Linked DNA regions of Homo sapiens: all the other regions are linked to region 5. Evidence: promoter capture Hi-C in human tissues and cell types (Jung and others, 2019). All regions are on one chromosome and are shown on one strand. The core of a region is centred on a gene start or on the middle of the fragment in contact, and the rest is flanking DNA. Distances in the headings are between cores, read along the strand shown.

Region 1 (2,700 bases), core at 96-2,595, 160 kb after region 5:
TACTCTGACATCTGAAACTGAGGTAGCAATAAAAAATTATCACTAACAGGACAGCAGACACAATTTATTTTGTGTTTATTACTGGGTGGCCCACTTGAAACTTTTCAGAAACTTAATTGATTCCAGATATTGGAAAATTATAATTAAATTATGACATTTATTTTAGATGCATTTAAATTAGCTGTCTTAATAGGATTGGTATAAATTGATTAATATCTATTAAGATTTATAGTATATATGTACAAACACACACACACACATACACACACACACACACAGACACACACATACATATAGTATAGGCATACCTCAAAGATATCATGGGTTTGGATCTAGACCACTGCAATAAAGTGAATACTGTAATAAAATGATTCACATGAATTATTTTTTGCTTTTCCAGTGCATATAAAAATCATGTTTACATTATATTGTAGTTTTATGTGCAAAGCATTATGGTTTGTTTTTTTTTTTGACATGAAATTTCACTCTGTCTCCCAGGATAGAGTGCAGTGGCGTGATCTCGGCTCACTGCAACCTCCGCCTTTTGGGTTCAAATGATTCTCCTGCCTCAGCCTCCTGAGTAGCTGGGATTACAGGCATGTGCCACCACACATGGCTAATTTTTGTATTTATGGTAGAGATGGGGTTTCACCATGTTGGTCAGGCTGGTCTCTAACTTCTGACCTCATGATCCACCTGCCTCGGCCTCCCAAAGTGCTGAGATTACAGGCGTGAGCCACCGCGCCCAGCCAAAGCATTATGTTTAAAACAAAGTACACACATTAATTAAAAAAAACTTATAGCTACAAGTTGATAGTGATATCAGGAATGATCAGGAAGTCATAATCTTTGGAAGGCCTTGCCCCAGTGTTGATGATTGCTAGTTAAGGTGGTAGTTGCTGAAGGTTGGCATGACTGTGCCAATTTTTTAATATAAGACAACAATGAAATTTGCCATATTGATTGACTCTTTCTTTCATGAAAGATCTCTCTGAAGCATGCAGTGCTGTTTGATAGCATTTCATCCACAGTACAATTTCTTTTAAAATTGGAGTCAATTCTCTCAAGCACTGCTGCTGCTTTCTCAATTAAGTTTATGTAATATTCTAAATTCTTTGTTGTCATTTCAATAATGTCCACAGCATAATCACCAGGAGTAAATTTCATTTCAAGAAACCTCTTTTTTTGCTCATTCATAAGAAAAAAACAGAACTCCTGATCTGTTCAAGATTTATCATGAGATTGGAGGCATTCAGTCACATCTTCCAGCTTCATTTCTAATTCTAGTTCTGTTGCTCTTTCAACCACATTTGCATTTACTTCCTTCACTGGTCTTGAACCCCTCTACGTCATCTATGAGGGTGAGAATCAGTGGCTTCCAAACTCCTGTTAATGTTGATATTTAGACCACCTCCCATGAATCACAAATGTCCTTAATGGCATGTAGAATGGTGAGTTCTTTCCAGAAGGTTTACAATTTGCTTTGCCCCAATCCATCAGAGGAATCATTCTCTCATCAATCACTCATAAAGCAACTATAGCTTTATGAAATAGTTGTAAGTAATAAGATTTGCAAGTTCAAACTACTCCTTGATCCATGGGCTGCAGAATGGATATTGTATTAGCAGGCATGAGAACAACATTAATCTTGTACATCCAACCTCTTGGGTGACCTGGTGTGTTGTCAATGAGTAGTAATATTTTGAAAGGAATTTTTTTTTTCTGAGTAGCAGGTCTCAGCAGTGGGCTTAAAATATTCAGTAAACCATGCTATAAACACGTGTGCTTTGTTGTTTCATTTATGGAACATGGGCAGAGTAGATTTAGGTAATTCTTAAGGGCCTTAGTATTGTCAGAATGGTAAATGGTCATTGGCTTAAACTTAAAGTCACCAGTTGTATGGAAAGTCAGTCTGTTCTCTAAAGGTTTGAAGCCAGGCATTGAGTTCTTTTCTCTAGCTGCGAAAGTCATAGATGACATCTTCTTCCAATGTAAGGCTCCTTTGTCTAAAATCTGTTGTTTAGTATAGCCACCTTCATCAACAATCTTGGCTAGATCTTCTGGATAACTTCCTGTAGCTTTTTTTTTTTCTTTTTTGAGACGGTGTGTCACACTGTTGCCCGGGCTGGAGTGCAATGACACGATCTCAGCTCACTGCAACCTCCACCTCCCGGGTTCAAGTGATCCTCCTGCCTTAGCCTCCCAAGTAGCTGGGATAACAGGTGCCTGCCACCATGCCCAGCTAATTTTTTGTATTTTTAGTACAGATGGGGTTTCACTATGTTGGCCAAGCTGCTCTCCTGACCTCATGATCCGCCCATCGTGACCTCCCAAAGTGCTGGGATTACAGGCGTGAGCCACCGTGCCCAGCCCTTCCTGTAGCTTCTATGTTAGCACTTGCTGCTTCACCTTGCATTTTTATGTTATGGAGATAGCTTCTTCCCTTAAATCTCATGAACCCACCTCTGCTAGCTTCACACTTCTGCAATTTCCTCACCTTTCTCAGCCTTCATAGAATTGAAGAGAGTTAGGGCCTTGCTCTGGATTAGGTTTTGGTGAAGGGAATGTTGTGGTTGGTTTAATCTTCTATTCAGACCACTAAAACTTTCTCTGTGTCAGCAATAAGGCTGTTTTGCTTTCTTGTCATTCGTGTATTCACTGTTATAGCACTTTTAATTTCCTTTGAGAACTTTCCTTTGC
Region 2 (2,700 bases), core at 170-2,669, 220 kb after region 5:
ATCAATTAGTATCAGACTCCACAGGTTTAAGAGTTTAGCCCTCCAGAAGACTGCTCTCAATTCAGATGCCAGCCACAAATGCAGAACATTCATGCTTCTGACGACTGACTATAAAATTGGAGATTCCCAAATGTATAGGTTCAGTAATTCTCTGGAATGACTCACAGAGCTCACTAAAAATGTTATATAGTTTTATTATAAAGGGTACACATAAGACAAGGTTTGGAAGGGACCTGGACCTAAAGCTTCCATGCCCTCTCCCTGTAGAGTCAGGGTACATTACCCTCTCTGCATGTCAGTGTGTCCACCAAGCCTCAGTGTTCAGAGCTTTTATTGGGGTTTCAGTATATGGGTGTGATTGATTAAATTATTGGCCATGTGATTGAACTGTCTCCAGCTCCCCTCCTGTCCTTGGAGGTGCTGTTGGCCTAGAGTTCCAACCCTCTAATCATGTGTTTGGTTTTTTTGGTGACCAGTCCCTAGCTGGAAGCTATCACCATGAGCAACCTCATCAGCATAGCAAAGACAGTACTGTCACCTTGAAATTCCAAGGGTTTTTGAAGCCCTGTGCCAGGAACTAGGAACAAAGTCCAGATATATTTTTATTATGCCACAATCTAAACTCTCTTTTTCTGAAAATTTTATATACATGTAATTATACAATATATGCCCTTTTGAGTCTGCCTTCCTTTCCTTAACATAATGCGTTTTGTTTTTTTGAGATGGAGTCTCACTGTCTTCCCCAGGCTGGAGTGATTTCAGCTCCCTGCAGCCTCTGCCTCCCAGGTTCAAGGGATTCTCCTGCCTGAGTCTCCTGAGTAGCTGGGACTACAGGGGTGCACCATTACACCTGGCTAATTTTTGTATTTTTAGTAGAGACGGGATTTCACCATGTTGGCCAGGTAAGTCTTGAACTCCTGACCTCAAGTGATCTGCCTGTCTCGGCCTCCCAAATTGCTGGGATTATAGGTGTGAGCCACCATGCCTGTCCAACATAATGTTTTTGAGGTTCATTCATATCAGTACTTTTTTTTTCCCTTTTCATGACTGAATAGTATTCCATTGTTTGGATTACATTTTGTTTATGGACATATTAATTGACCATTTGGATTATTTCCAGTTTTCAGTTATGAAAATTGGAGAGAAGTCTTTGGGTTGACATATGTTTTAATTTCTCTTGGCTTGATACCTAAATGTAGAATTGTTAGGTCATAAGAATAATGCTTAAAAAAAAAGTAGTTCCATTTTACATTGCCACTTGGCAGTGTATGAGGGGTCCAGTTTGTCAGCATCCTTGCCAACATTTGGTATGATCAGACTATTTTATTATAGCCATTCTAGAAATGTATGGTAATTTTTATGGTAATTTTCATTTCCCTAATGACTAGTGATGTTGGACTTCTTTTCATAGTGCTTATTGGGCATTTGTATACATTTTGTGAAATGTCTATTAAATTTTCTTGCCCTTTTTTCATGGGGTTTATTGTCTTATTACTGAATTGCAGGAGGTGACTTTGAAAAGTTTTTCATTTTGGATCAAATCTTTTATTAAATATAGGATTTGGGAATATATTTTCCCAGATCGTGGCCTGTGTTTTCACTTTCTAAATAGTGCTTTTTGAAGACAAAATGTTCTAAATTTTGATGATGTTCCATTCATTAATTTTTTTTTCTGTTAGGAGCTATACTTTTGCTATCATATCCAAGAAATCTTTACCTAGTTGGGGGTCACAAAGATTTTCTCCTTTGTTTTTCATTTAGGTCTGTGATCTGTTTTGAGTTTACTTTTAAATATGGTGTGAGATACTCTGGTTTCTCTTCAGATCATATAAGTCTTTGTTTCATCTTTTAAATACGGTTTGAGGTGAAAATCCAAGTTCATTTTTTTTTAATTTTTTGCCTGTGTGTATTCAGTTGTACCAGCAGCATTTTTTGAAAAGTCTGTCTTTGCCCATTGAATTGCTTTGGCATCTTTGTTAAAAAACAGTTGACCATAAATATCAGGATTTATGTCTAGAATTTCTGTGGTTCTGATTCTACTAATATGGAGCAAGACTCTGTCCCGTGCATTCCAACTAAAAACCCTGGACAGAATACACAGCACAGCTGTTTGAGGTCTCTGAAGAGTAAATAATAGCAGGAGGTTCAGGATGCACTTCCAACCTGGAGATATGACTGATACTGGCAAGTTTTCTGTTTTTTTCTGTTGTTGTTGTTGTTGTTTTCTCTGCCCTTTTCCCCTTTCTTTTTCTCCCAGCTTGGACTCCAGGGCATCTTATTCTTGGTCTGCACAACAGATGCAGACAGAAGAATCCTCTTTTTCTCTGTTTATGGTCAGAGGACTGGAAAGAAGGGCCCCTGTGCGAAGGAGTCTGTGTGGAACATCACTGTTTTCTTTGTGTTTTGTATTCTGGTTTTTGTTTTACTTTTCTGGTGGGACCCCAAGTAAGCCTTAATCATGAGGCCGTTCCCCTGCAATGGTAGTGGTGGTGGCAATGGCAACTATGCAGGCATTTAAAACTCTGAAAGATAATCTTTTTCTTTGACCAGATAAACGGGAAAAACGGGCCCCTGTAGCCCAAAGAATGAGGGGAGAATATCTGTTAGTTTTTGCTTTTTTCCCCCCTTTCTTGCCACTTCTCCCCAAGGCAGATGCAGTTGCAGAAAGTATATGAGTGTGTGTGGAGGCAAAAACACCAG
Region 3 (2,708 bases), core at 117-2,616, 200 kb after region 5:
AGCAGAGAGAGATGTTTAAGTTTAGGGCCACTGACTGAGGAGATGAAAGGAAACCTCAAATCCATCTCCCTGTGGAATTTGGGGCTAGAGTTTTGAAGGCTTTTGGAGTGTGCCAGAGTTTGGAGATGGTTGGTTGGTCCAAGAGTGCAGGGTGAGATCATGGGACAGGGAGACAAAGGAACTGTATTCTCATGCTGATTTGGTTCCTCTTTGGGGATCTTTAAGTTGGTTGGTGTCAGCTGTTTTACTGGAATTCAGGATCTGTTTAAGTATTCCATATCTTGAATAAGCAAAAGCCTTATGATTCTAACATCAGAGACCCTATCTGTCTTAAAAAATGTCTTACAACCTTAGTGTCAGAAATTCTATCTATAGTAACAATGGGGATTCAAATGGACAGTATGTACTGTTTCTAGACTTTTTCTTACAAGGAAGTGGGTCAAAGTGCAGCTGATTTATGCTTAATTATAACTATATTTCTATTCAAAATTCTTGTTAAGCCTGTGAGGACAGTTTCATGGATTTCCAGTTTTTTAAAGTACTTTTGAAAAGATTGTCCTTTGTGCACTCAATAGTCTTATTACCCTGGTCAAATATCATTTGATCATATATGCAAGGTTTTATTTTTGGGTTCTCTGTTCTATTCCATTGTCTTAGATGTCCATCTTTATGATAGTACCACATATTTTTGATTACTGTAGGTTTGTAGTAAGTTTTAAATCCGAAAGTGAGTCCTTCAACTTTCTTCTTCTTTTTTCAAGTTTGTTTTGTTTATTTGGGGTCCCTTAACGTTCTATATGAATTTCAGGATGGATTTTTCTAGTTCTGCAACATGTGCCATTGGGATTTTAATAGGGATTGCATTGAATCTGTCGATCACTTTGGGTTGTATTGTCATCTTAATAATAAGTATTCCAAACCATGAGCACAGGATGTCTTTTTATTTATTTGTGTCTTCTTCAATTTCTTTCAGCAATGTTTTGTTGTCTTCAGATTACAAGTCTTTCACTTCCTTGTTTTATTTTTCCCTAGGAGTTTTTTTTTATGCTGTTGTAAATGGAATTGTTTTCTTAATTTCCTTTTCTGATTGTTCATTGTTAGTGTATAGTGAGCAATAACTATTTTGGTGTGTCACCTAATATATGACATTACTAAATTACTTTATCTCCTGTCTCTATATTAGTAGCAGATAAGTGATTTGAACTAAATTCAAATGGAAACTAAATTCAGAATAAATGATAACTTCCAAGTTGAATTTAAATGCTACATTTGAACTTAATTTTTGTTCATTAAACTAAGGTTTAAACTTGTCTAAGCAAACTAATTCGAAACTATAGTCCTGGAAGAATACCAGATTATCAAAATAACCATTTGAAACAATTAAGTTTGAGCTCTTAAAAGATTGTGATTATGATATTTCTGGGGTACAATTTATAACTTCTAGCTCTTATTGTGCCTTGTAGATGGTTCTCTAGTTGCGTTGCATTTCTTTTCTTTCTTTCTTTCTTTTGTTTTTTTTTTTTTTTAGACAGGGTCTCACTCTGTCATCTAGGCAGTGGCTCAATCATAGCTCACTGTAGCCTTGAACTCCTGGACTCAAGTGATCCTCTTGCCTGAGTAGCTAGGACTATAGGCATATACAACTTATTGATCGTTCTCTAGAAGTTGCTGGATATATAATAGTATTGAATGTTTTTCACATTTAGGGTGTGGGATATACAATTGAGGAGAGATTGTAGATCATATATTTTTGCTGTTTTTTTTTTTTAATTTACAGGCCACAGAAACACTATTCAGAATGGGTGTAGCAAGAGGAACCATCACAACATTAAGAAATGGAGAAGTAAGATGAGAATTTTGATATAGTTATTAGTTGTTAATTTATAGTTTGCGATTTTAAAATATAAAATGTGATGAAATCTATGATGCTTTGTCTAAGAAATAGAGAGATATCTGATGTATATAATATTGAGTGTACCTGATGAACAAATCCATTTTAATTCATAGTCATGTTGGAACCAGATCTTAGATTGAAAACAAATTACTGTCTTTTTACCTTTAGTTATCAAATATCTTTACTCTTAAAAAATGACATTTTATTAGTAACTTCTACAAATGTTTGTAATGAAAAAAAGAATTCCTTAGCTTTTGCTTTCTTTCTATTTTGTGTTATACAGAACTGATACTTATTTCTTAAGATAAAATAATCGGAAATGTTGAACATTTACTACACGTGGAGAGAAGGGAAGGAAGAGGGAGAGGGAGAGGGAGAAAAAAGCTGGAGAGGATTTTGTCTGCAGATGCTAAGTTTTGACTTTTTAAAATGCTCCTGTCAATCCTTTAGAAGATTTTTCTATCACCTCACATACATTTTCATGTTAAAATTATTACCAGCTTGATTACCACTTTGTCTGCTCTTTCTTTATTTTCTCCTTTACTAAGACAAATTTAGGTTGAGGTCGAATGTAACACCAAATTGTTATGTTCCTTTTTCTATTCTAATGGCAAATACTTAAGGATAAAATACAGAAATCCCTATTTTTGAGGAGATGGGGTCTTGCTATGTTGCTTAGGCTGGTCTTGAACTCCTGGCCTCAAGCGATTATCCTGCCTTTACCTCACAGAGTGCCGGCATTACAGGCATGAGCCACCATGCCTAGCCCTTAGAATTCCCTATTCTTGAATTAAGTTTGATGTTATTTAATGTA
Region 4 (2,700 bases), core at 131-2,630, 180 kb after region 5:
CAGCCCACTGCAACCCCCGCCTCCTGGGTTCAAGTGATTCTCCTGCCTCAGCCTTCCAAGTAGCTGGGATTACAGGTGCCCGCCACCACACCCGGCTAATTTTTGTATTTTTAATAGAGATGGGGTTTCACCATGTTGGCCAGGCTGGTCTCAAGCTCGTGACCTCAGGTGATCCGCCCGCCTTGGCCTCCCAAAGCGCTGGGATTACAGGTTTGAGCCACTGCGCCCAGCTCCAAATTGATTTCATTAATATGAAAAGCTAATGAATTATTTTTTCAGCATTTGAAATTGCTTTAATGTAGTTAAGGAAATATTTGTTCATACTTTGCTAAACCACATACCCCAATATAATCAGTAAATAAGCACTTACTTGACATAGTCCAAACAATGACTTACTCATTAGCTCTTACATCTTGCATTTATTCAATATTTTTTGAGTGTTTATCAGGTGTAAGTGGCAGAGGTATATTAGTGAAATAGAATCTATATTCTAGTGAGAATTGTAAATGAATAATTAGTTACTATATAGTATGATACATTGTGGCAGAAGAAGGATTCAGGTCTGACAACTTTTTGCTTGGACAAATGGTGGATGGGAACACAGGTGCAAGAGCACTCATCTGCAAGTAAAGGTGAGATTGGCAATGCTTGTTTGCCAACTTGCTGGTTTTTATATAGAGTACATATTTTTCTTCATGATCAAGTTAAGTGTATACTAGAGCAGTGGTTCTTAATTGGTGACATGTGGAATTTTGTATGGAATGCAGGGTTTTCATAACTTACTTATCTTGGATCCCCAGCGTACCTACGAGTATGACATGCAGGCTCTGTTTCATCTTTCCTGGATTATTCATCTCTAGTATTTATTACTGGCTTTAGTATTTCTGTTGCTTTCGGCAGCTTCCACCTCTGCTCCCAGTTTCTATGAATTTAAGAAGTTTATATGAATTTAAGATAAAATCTATCTCTAAAGCATATGAATTTCTTTCTAAAGCATCTGTGTCCTTCCTAAAAAATTTTTCATTAATGTAGTACCCAGATTTTTCCCAATGATAAGGGGGAGTTGAATTACCACTGAATTGAGAGCTACTTTTGGGTGGGACTGGGGAGGAGGGACAGGTAGTATTTTGAGAAAACAGCCTTATTTATATTTAATGAACTTCATGTATTTTAAGTTTACAGTTTGATGAGTTTTGGCAAATGTTTATAGTCATGTGACTATAAGCACAATCAAGATATAGAATATTTCTCTCTTCCTTAAAAAGCCCCTCTTTCCCCTTTGCGGTTTTCTCTTCCCATGTCCTAGATCCCAAGCAGTCACTTGTCTGCTCTCTGTCACTAAAATTTTGGCTTTTCTATAGCTCATATAAATGGATATATGTTTTCATTTATCTTGGGTAGATACCTAGGGATAGAATTGCTGGGCCTCATGGTAAGTATATGTTTAAATTTACAGGAAACTGACAAATTGTTTTCCAAACTGACTGTACCATTTTGCCTTCCCGCCAGCAATATATGAGAGTTCCAGTATCTCCATATTCTCACTATCACTTGGTATTGTCATTCTTTTTACTTGTTCTAGTGCATGTGGAGTGGTATCTTATTTTGGTTTTAATTTGCATTTTCCTACAGACTAATAATATTGAACATCTTTTTGTTGGCTTTGGCTATTCATAAATATTTGTGTGTGTGTATACATATGCACATATATTCATATATAGTATGTATATGATATATGTAGATTTTTTTGTTCAAGTATCTGTTGAAATCTTTTGATCATTTCAATTTTTTGGGTTGTGTAGCTTATTTTTGACTAGTAAGAGTTATTTATATATTTTGAATTTAAGTGCTTTGCCACATATATATTTGCAGATATTTTTTCAGAGTTTGTGGCTTACTTTTTCTTTCTTTCTTTTTTTTTGTGTTTGAGATGGAGCCTCACTCTGTCGCCCAGGCTGCAGTGCAATGGTGTGATCTCAGCTCATTGCAACCTCTACCTCCCAGGTTCAAGCAATTCTCCCGCCTCAGCCTCTGAAGTAGCTGGGACTACAGGTGCATGCCACCACGCCCGGCTAATTTTTTGTATTTTTAGTAGAGATGGGGTTTCACCCTGTTAGCCAGGATGGTCTCGATCTCCTGACCTCGTGATCCGCCTGCCATGGCCTCCCAAAGTGCTGGGATTACAGGTGTGAGCCACCACGCCCAGCTGCTTTTTCATTTTTTAAATTAAGTAATGGGCTATCATGGGCAAACAATTTGACTGCAAAGAGCAAAAGGTTTTTAATTTTGATTAGGCACATTTTATCAATGTATTAGTTGTTCTGCCTCCTTCTATTTATGTTATAGTTACAAAGGTAGTTTTAAAGGTCCCTGGTACAAGGAGAGGGAATATGTATGGGGGACAGTCAATGTCACATTTTAAGAAGCACATGTGGGATAGGATATATATTTTGGTGTGGGCATCTTTGGATGGTATAATCTGCAGTGATGAAATTTTTTCTTTAATATTTGTTTTTTTATCCCCAATGTAGTATATCTTTGCTCAAATCAAGATCATAAATGTTTTCTCCAGTGTTTTTCTTCCAGAAGTTTTATGTTTTGAGCTCTAACATTTAAGTCTGTGATTTATTTTGAGTTAGTTTTTGTTATGGAGTGAGTTACGGGTTGAGGTTCATATATTTCCGTTTGGAAATTCCGTTG
Region 5 (2,700 bases), core at 99-2,598:
CTGTCAGTCTTTTATTATCCCAATAAATTTTTTATTTTGCAGGATTATAATCACCCTGTATATGCAAATTCTTATTACTGTGGAATAAACATTTTCTCTATCATTAGATATGCTTTACATTTTTTAATGACTGCAAAAAAATTTCTTCCAATATACCAACCACCTTCCTGCAGCTTCTTCTCACCCTCCAAGCATTAAACGTGCCTTCAACTGTGAGGATAAGAAAGAACTCAAGCCAACCCAACCACTCCTTCATGCATGACCTCTAAAACGCTGCGGGACGTCGTGAGAAGGGGCTATTCAGCAGAAAAAGGTGCAGTAGTGTTTCATTTAATAACACCCCAAAAATAGTGGGGAGAAGGAAGTTCGGTGAAGGATGGTCTCCTTATCACTCCCTCCAAGTCTTAGCTGCAGCTGGCTCCCTCCCACTCGCCCACCGAGCAGTGGCGGCCAGAATCCTTGGCAGAGATAACCCTCAGCTCCACTGGGGTTAGGGGTCTGGGCCAGACATGGGTGGGCAAGAGAGAAAAACGGAAGGGCGGGGTGTAAGAGTGGGTTCTTTCCCAGGCCAGATGACTTACACAACGTTTTGGCTTCCAGTCCCTGAGAAAGTGGGGGTGGGGATGGAAATCACTTTTCCAGGAGAGCTGTCTCCTTCGGGCTAGGATGATCAACTTGGCATGGGCTCTGCAAAGTTAGTTTGGAGCGTCCCTCCCCAAGGGGTCCCGCCAGGGGTGGGGGTGGGGGCGCCCACCTGCAGCTGGCTGGAGCAGCCGTACTGGATGAGCGGTGTGAAAGTTGTCAGCTGCAGCTCGGCGTCCGTCTGCAGCTCGTGCCCAACCAGGTTGGGCATCTTGGTCACGTTGTAGCCGAGGTTCTGGCACATGGAGATGCGGATGGGGTCGCAGCGCCGCTCTTCCTCGTCCCCGAAGCCCCGCGCCGGCCCCAGGAGCAGCAGCAACTGCAGGAGCAACCCCAGACTGAGACCGACGCCCCCGGGCGCCCCCGGGACGCTCGGCCCTGCGCCCCGCCAGGCCATGGCCAGCATCGGGGGTAGCAGCGGCAGCGGCTGGGGCTGCTCTGGCAGACACCCCCAGTTTGCACGGGGGCGCCGGCTGCCCGCGCTGCTCCCAGCTCCCGGGACGGGAGTGTGATGCGGCGACGAGGGGGCAGCGGCCGGCTCTCCAGCAGCTGCGCGCGACTGTGTGGGATTTTAGACGTCCCGGGCCGAGGCCGAGGGACAGGCTGCGAGGGTCATGGCTGCAGGCGGCGAGCCCACAAGCCGGCGCCGGCCGCGTCCGTTCGGCGTCTCCGCGAGGCCAGCCAGCAGCCAGCGCTGCGCAGCTCTCACCGCCGGAGCCCTGCGCGGCGCTGGAGGCTCGCGGCGCGGCGGCGGGGCGGGACGGACAGCGGGCCTCTCCAATGGCCGGGCGCGGTGGGCAGCTAGGGGCGAGGCGGCGGGGCGGGGCCGCTCTCCCGCAGGAGGAGTCAGGCCCCCGCCCTCCGGCCCCCTCCTCCGGCCGCCCCTCCCTCCCTCCCTCCCCTAGCGCCCCGCCCCGCCCGCCTCCCGGCTCTTGCTTTCCTCCCACCCGGATCTAGGCGCGCAGGGGCCAAGCAGGGACGCAGCCCAGTGGCTCCAGCCACGCCGTCCTGCCCCCTTCTGCAGGTGAGAAGTGCGCCCTGTTCCATCTGCCCCCTTTCCTTCCTGTCTCCTTTCAGCTGTAACCTAGGCCGGTGGCCACCTCCCCGTCAGGCAGAGAAACGTACACAAAGAATTGGGGATTTGGATTTACACCGATTGTGGCTTTCAGTCCCGGTTGTGTGACCTTGAGCAAATTGCTCAACCCCTCGGCGTCAGTCTCCTCTGTAAAGTCACTTGGGAGGATTAGAGATAAAGTGTAGAAGGCTTAGCATGGTGCCTGGTACTGCGTGAGTCCACAGCTATTTTCACTCCGGACCAGCGGCGATCGGGGCCCGGCCTCTCCCCGCCCCCAGACTCGCCCGACCTGCGCAGGGAGCCGCCCACCTCCAGCCGCCAGCGGGGAGGCGCCCCAGAGCTGCGGAGCTGCAGACCCGCCGACGGTCTCGCGCTCTGATTTCCTCACCGTATGAAATGAAATTCCACAGGGGGATTCGAAAGGAAATGAGACCGGGACTCTCCGTGCTTCTCGGCCCGCCGCCCTTCCTGTCTCGGGGACACGGTTTCTAAATAAGGTTGGGAGGGTGAGAGGGCGGGAGGGGAGAGGCTTGACCTGTGCACTGGGGACGAGGAAGGCGCACAACCACCGTGACTCCTCTCTCCCGGCCTCCCGGGCACCCCCTCCCCACCAGGCTGCACCCCTTTTTTTCTTTGCTTCTGCTTCGGCTCCTAGGGATCTGGGGATCATGTGACCCAGGTTTGAACCCAACTTTCCTGTCTCATTACCAGCCCCCCGCGGCTTTGTGCTGGTCCACCCTCTCTCTGCTTTCCAGTCGGCCAGTAAACTCCCAGCAGGTGGATTCCTCCACCGTTTACTTGTTGCTTGACTGTGTTGAAGCTATGGTGCCTCTCTGAGCCTCAAAGTGGCCGGCTGTAAAGTGGGGAAGTTCATATCCACCTCACACAGTTGTTCTAAGAGTTCAGTGAGATAATACCTGTAAATCATTTAGCAGTGTCTGACACATAATAAATGCTGAAGAACTTGGTGATTGGGGTGTGTG
Region 6 (2,700 bases), core at 34-2,533, 140 kb after region 5:
TTTGTGTCATTGACGGGGTAAGTTGGCACAGTAGACAGTAGAGTATTCCTGGAAGCCACTCTTTTTTTTTTTTTCAAGACAGGGTCTGGCTCTGTCACCCAGGCTGGAGTGCGGCGGCATGATCTTGGCTCACTGCAACCTCTGCCTCCTGGGTTCAAACGATTCTCCTGCCTCAGTCCCCAGAGTAGTTGGGATTACAGGCGCACACTGCCATGCCTGGCTAATTTTTGTATTTCCAGTACAGACGGGGTTTCACCATGTTGGTCAGGCTGGTCTGGAACTCCTGACCTCAAGTGATCTGCCCGCCTCGGCCTCCCAAAGTGCTGGGATTACAGGCGTGAGCCACCGTGCCTGGTTGCCACTCTTTTAATGAGCCACTAGGAATCAATGTTCTATACCTAAAAGCAACTGGAAAGTAAATTAATGAATATATCATGCTAAACCCAAACTCAATATATCTTGCTAAACTCAACTCTACTAGCAAGCTGGATTCCAAAACCTAGTGCTGTTCATCACAAGGTGAAGTGTGACAGAGAAATCAGAATGTAAAATGATAGTAATCTTAACTATCTATGGTTAAAATACCTTACTTTTGCCAATGTTACCAAAGTGACTATGTGAACAGATTTTGTAGGGCTCTTTTCGAGGTTTGCAAGAAGCCTGTGGTTATGGGGGGGTCTTTATGTTTCTCTGGCTTCCTTTTACCACCACTGTCTGCTTCCTCATTCTCCACTTCAGCCACACTGCCCTCTCTGGTGTTGAGTGAGCATGACAAGCATGCTTTCTCTTCAGGACTTTGATACTTGCTGTTCGCTCTGTTTTGAGCTCTTATCGCTAGATATCTGCATGGCTTGCTGTTTCATTTCACTGAGACTGCTGAAATGTCACTGTTGTGAGGCCTTCCACATCTATCTCACATAGTAACAGTCACCCTTCATGTAACTTATACCCCTGCAGTCCCAAACCTCTGTATCTTTTTTTCATGGAGTTGATCAACATCTAACATGTATCTTTTTTGCTTATTATTTTATTGTCTGTCTTCCCACCTTGGAATTTAAGCTTCATGAATGTAGAGTTTTTGTGTGTTTTATACATTGCTGTATTAAGCCTAGAACAGTACCTAAAATGTACTTTGTGCCATAATTTGTTAAATGAATCATAGATGAATGTGTTTATTAACCCATCTATGCTGGAGGTTGCAAATTTTTTTTTTTTTTGTGAAAAATCAGACCTTGGCGATGACCTTGAGCAGTAGGAAAATAATAACTCCTGTAAGCTTAGCGTTCCAATAATGGAACACTAGGCATAAATGGGTTAAAGAGAAGGATTTATAGGAGACATACCAGATTAAACCTAGATGTTTATTTTAAAGCTTGTTTTAAATATTTTAGGTTGGTGCAAAAGTAATGGTGGTTTTGCTGTAATATTATTTACAAGTAAAACCTTGCTTTATTTGACTGCATTAATGTTGTATTTTAGATTAAAAGATACAAAGATTAAAAGTTGGTGATTGTGGTACATAGATGAAGTACATGACTTATTTTGAACTGCGTGTGAACACTCCTGTTTTGCCAGCTCATGGTGTTGTAATCAGAATCCAGAAAAATAAATAACTTGAAGAAATCATCTACTTTAAAATGATAAACTTAAATTATTAAGTGATAATAAATACTACAACCTGAAAAGAATCTAAAACAATTGATTAATCTTGGTTATAGATTATTTATATTGTATAACAAAGTATCTTATATATATATATATTTTTTTGAGATGGAATCTTGCTCTGTCGCCCAGGCTGCAGTGCAGTGGTGCCATGTCGGCTCACTGCAAGCTCCGCCTCCTGGGTTCATGCCATTCTCCTGCCTCAGCCTCCCAAGTAGCTGGGACTACAGGCACCCACCACCACGCCCGGCTAATTTTTTGTATTTTAAGTAGAGATGGGGTTTCACCATGTCAGCCAGGATGGTCTCGATCTCCTGACCTCGTGATCCGCCCGCCTCGGCCTCCCAAAGTGCTTGGATTACAGGTGTGAGCCACCGTGCCCAGCCAAATATCTTAAATTTTCTTAATGGCTTTGTTGTTGTGCTGCTTTTCTTATGTTTTCAAGAAAACTTTAAAGTATTATGCCTGCACGCTAGCATACATTTGAGTTTTAGTGTATTTTTTTAGACACTCACATGCTTTTCTATAGTAGCACACGCTGTGTACTTCAATACCCAAATACTGTGCGTATTCATACACTTATTTGAAAATTATAAGTAAACTTACTAAAACTTTTGTGTGTTGTCTGCTTTAGATTGTGAATTCCTGGGAAAGAGATCTTTGACTTTGATATTATTGATGTTGGAGAGCACACTTAAAATACTGTATTTAAAAAAAAATTAAAACTTTTATTTTGAAATAATTATAGATTCATATGCAATTATAAAAAATAATATAGGGATCCCATGTTCTCTTTACCCATTTTCCCCCAATGGTAGCATATCGCAAAACTATAATATAATATAATATCAAAACCAGAATATTTAATTGATACAGTCAGGATACAGAATATTTCCATCATAGCAACACCCACTTCTCTCCTGTTGTCACCCCTCCTTAACCCCTGTTCATGGTTTTTAGCTGTTATGAACAAAGCTGCTATAAATATTCATGTACAGATTTTCATGTTTTTATTGGTCTGGGATAAATGCCCATTAG

Evidence for each region. The method cuts DNA at HindIII sites, captures the fragments that hold promoters and counts their contacts. A contact is called where the count stands out against the background at its distance.
Region 1: a fragment that was not itself captured here is called in contact with the fragment with the promoter of FZD4 in region 5 in 2 of the 25 tissues and cell types used here (adrenal gland and heart right ventricle).
Region 2: a contact is called between a fragment that was not itself captured here and the fragment with the promoter of FZD4 in region 5, in 1 of the 25 tissues and cell types used here (heart right ventricle).
Region 3: a contact is called between a fragment that was not itself captured here and the fragment with the promoter of FZD4 in region 5, in 3 of the 25 tissues and cell types used here (adrenal gland, bladder and thymus).
Region 4: a contact is called between a fragment that was not itself captured here and the fragment with the promoter of FZD4 in region 5, in 2 of the 25 tissues and cell types used here (heart right ventricle and thymus).
Region 6: a contact is called between a fragment that was not itself captured here and the fragment with the promoter of FZD4 in region 5, in 7 of the 25 tissues and cell types used here (H1 embryonic stem cells, bladder, heart left ventricle and 4 more).

Annotation. Positions count from the first base shown.
Region 1 is chr11:87,116,370-87,119,069 of GRCh38, forward strand. All of the region lies in intron 4 of TMEM135 (transmembrane protein 135), which reads left to right. Among named protein-coding and RNA genes, the nearest start is that of TMEM135, 80 kb to the left of the region's middle. The HindIII fragment of the contact is 5,171 bases long and covers 1-2,700 here.
Region 2 is chr11:87,177,735-87,180,434 of GRCh38, forward strand. The region is part of intron 5 of TMEM135 (transmembrane protein 135); the gene reads left to right. Among named protein-coding and RNA genes, the nearest start is that of TMEM135, 140 kb to the left of the region's middle. The HindIII fragment of the contact is 5,072 bases long and covers 1-2,700 here.
Region 3 is chr11:87,155,564-87,158,271 of GRCh38, forward strand. It overlaps TMEM135 (transmembrane protein 135), which reads left to right. Exons shown (of 15, transcript NM_022918.4): 5 at 1,778-1,843. Among named protein-coding and RNA genes, the nearest start is that of TMEM135, 120 kb to the left of the region's middle. The HindIII fragment of the contact is 6,922 bases long and covers 1-2,708 here.
Region 4 is chr11:87,138,159-87,140,858 of GRCh38, forward strand. The region is part of intron 4 of TMEM135 (transmembrane protein 135); the gene reads left to right. Among named protein-coding and RNA genes, the nearest start is that of TMEM135, 100 kb to the left of the region's middle. The HindIII fragment of the contact is 5,935 bases long and covers 1-2,700 here.
Region 5 is chr11:86,954,047-86,956,746 of GRCh38, forward strand. It overlaps FZD4 (frizzled class receptor 4), which reads right to left and starts at 1,349. Exons shown (of 2, transcript NM_012193.4): 1 at 755-1,349. The coding sequence starts at 1,039. FZD4-DT (FZD4 divergent transcript) reads left to right here and starts at 1,575. Exons shown (of 3, transcript NR_038905.1): 1 at 1,575-1,666. RefSeq lists silencers at 1,027-1,076, 1,207-1,576, 1,927-2,076. The HindIII fragment of the contact is 8,131 bases long and covers 1-2,700 here.
Region 6 is chr11:87,096,940-87,099,639 of GRCh38, forward strand. The region is part of intron 4 of TMEM135 (transmembrane protein 135); the gene reads left to right. Among named protein-coding and RNA genes, the nearest start is that of TMEM135, 60 kb to the left of the region's middle. The HindIII fragment of the contact is 5,790 bases long and covers 1-2,700 here.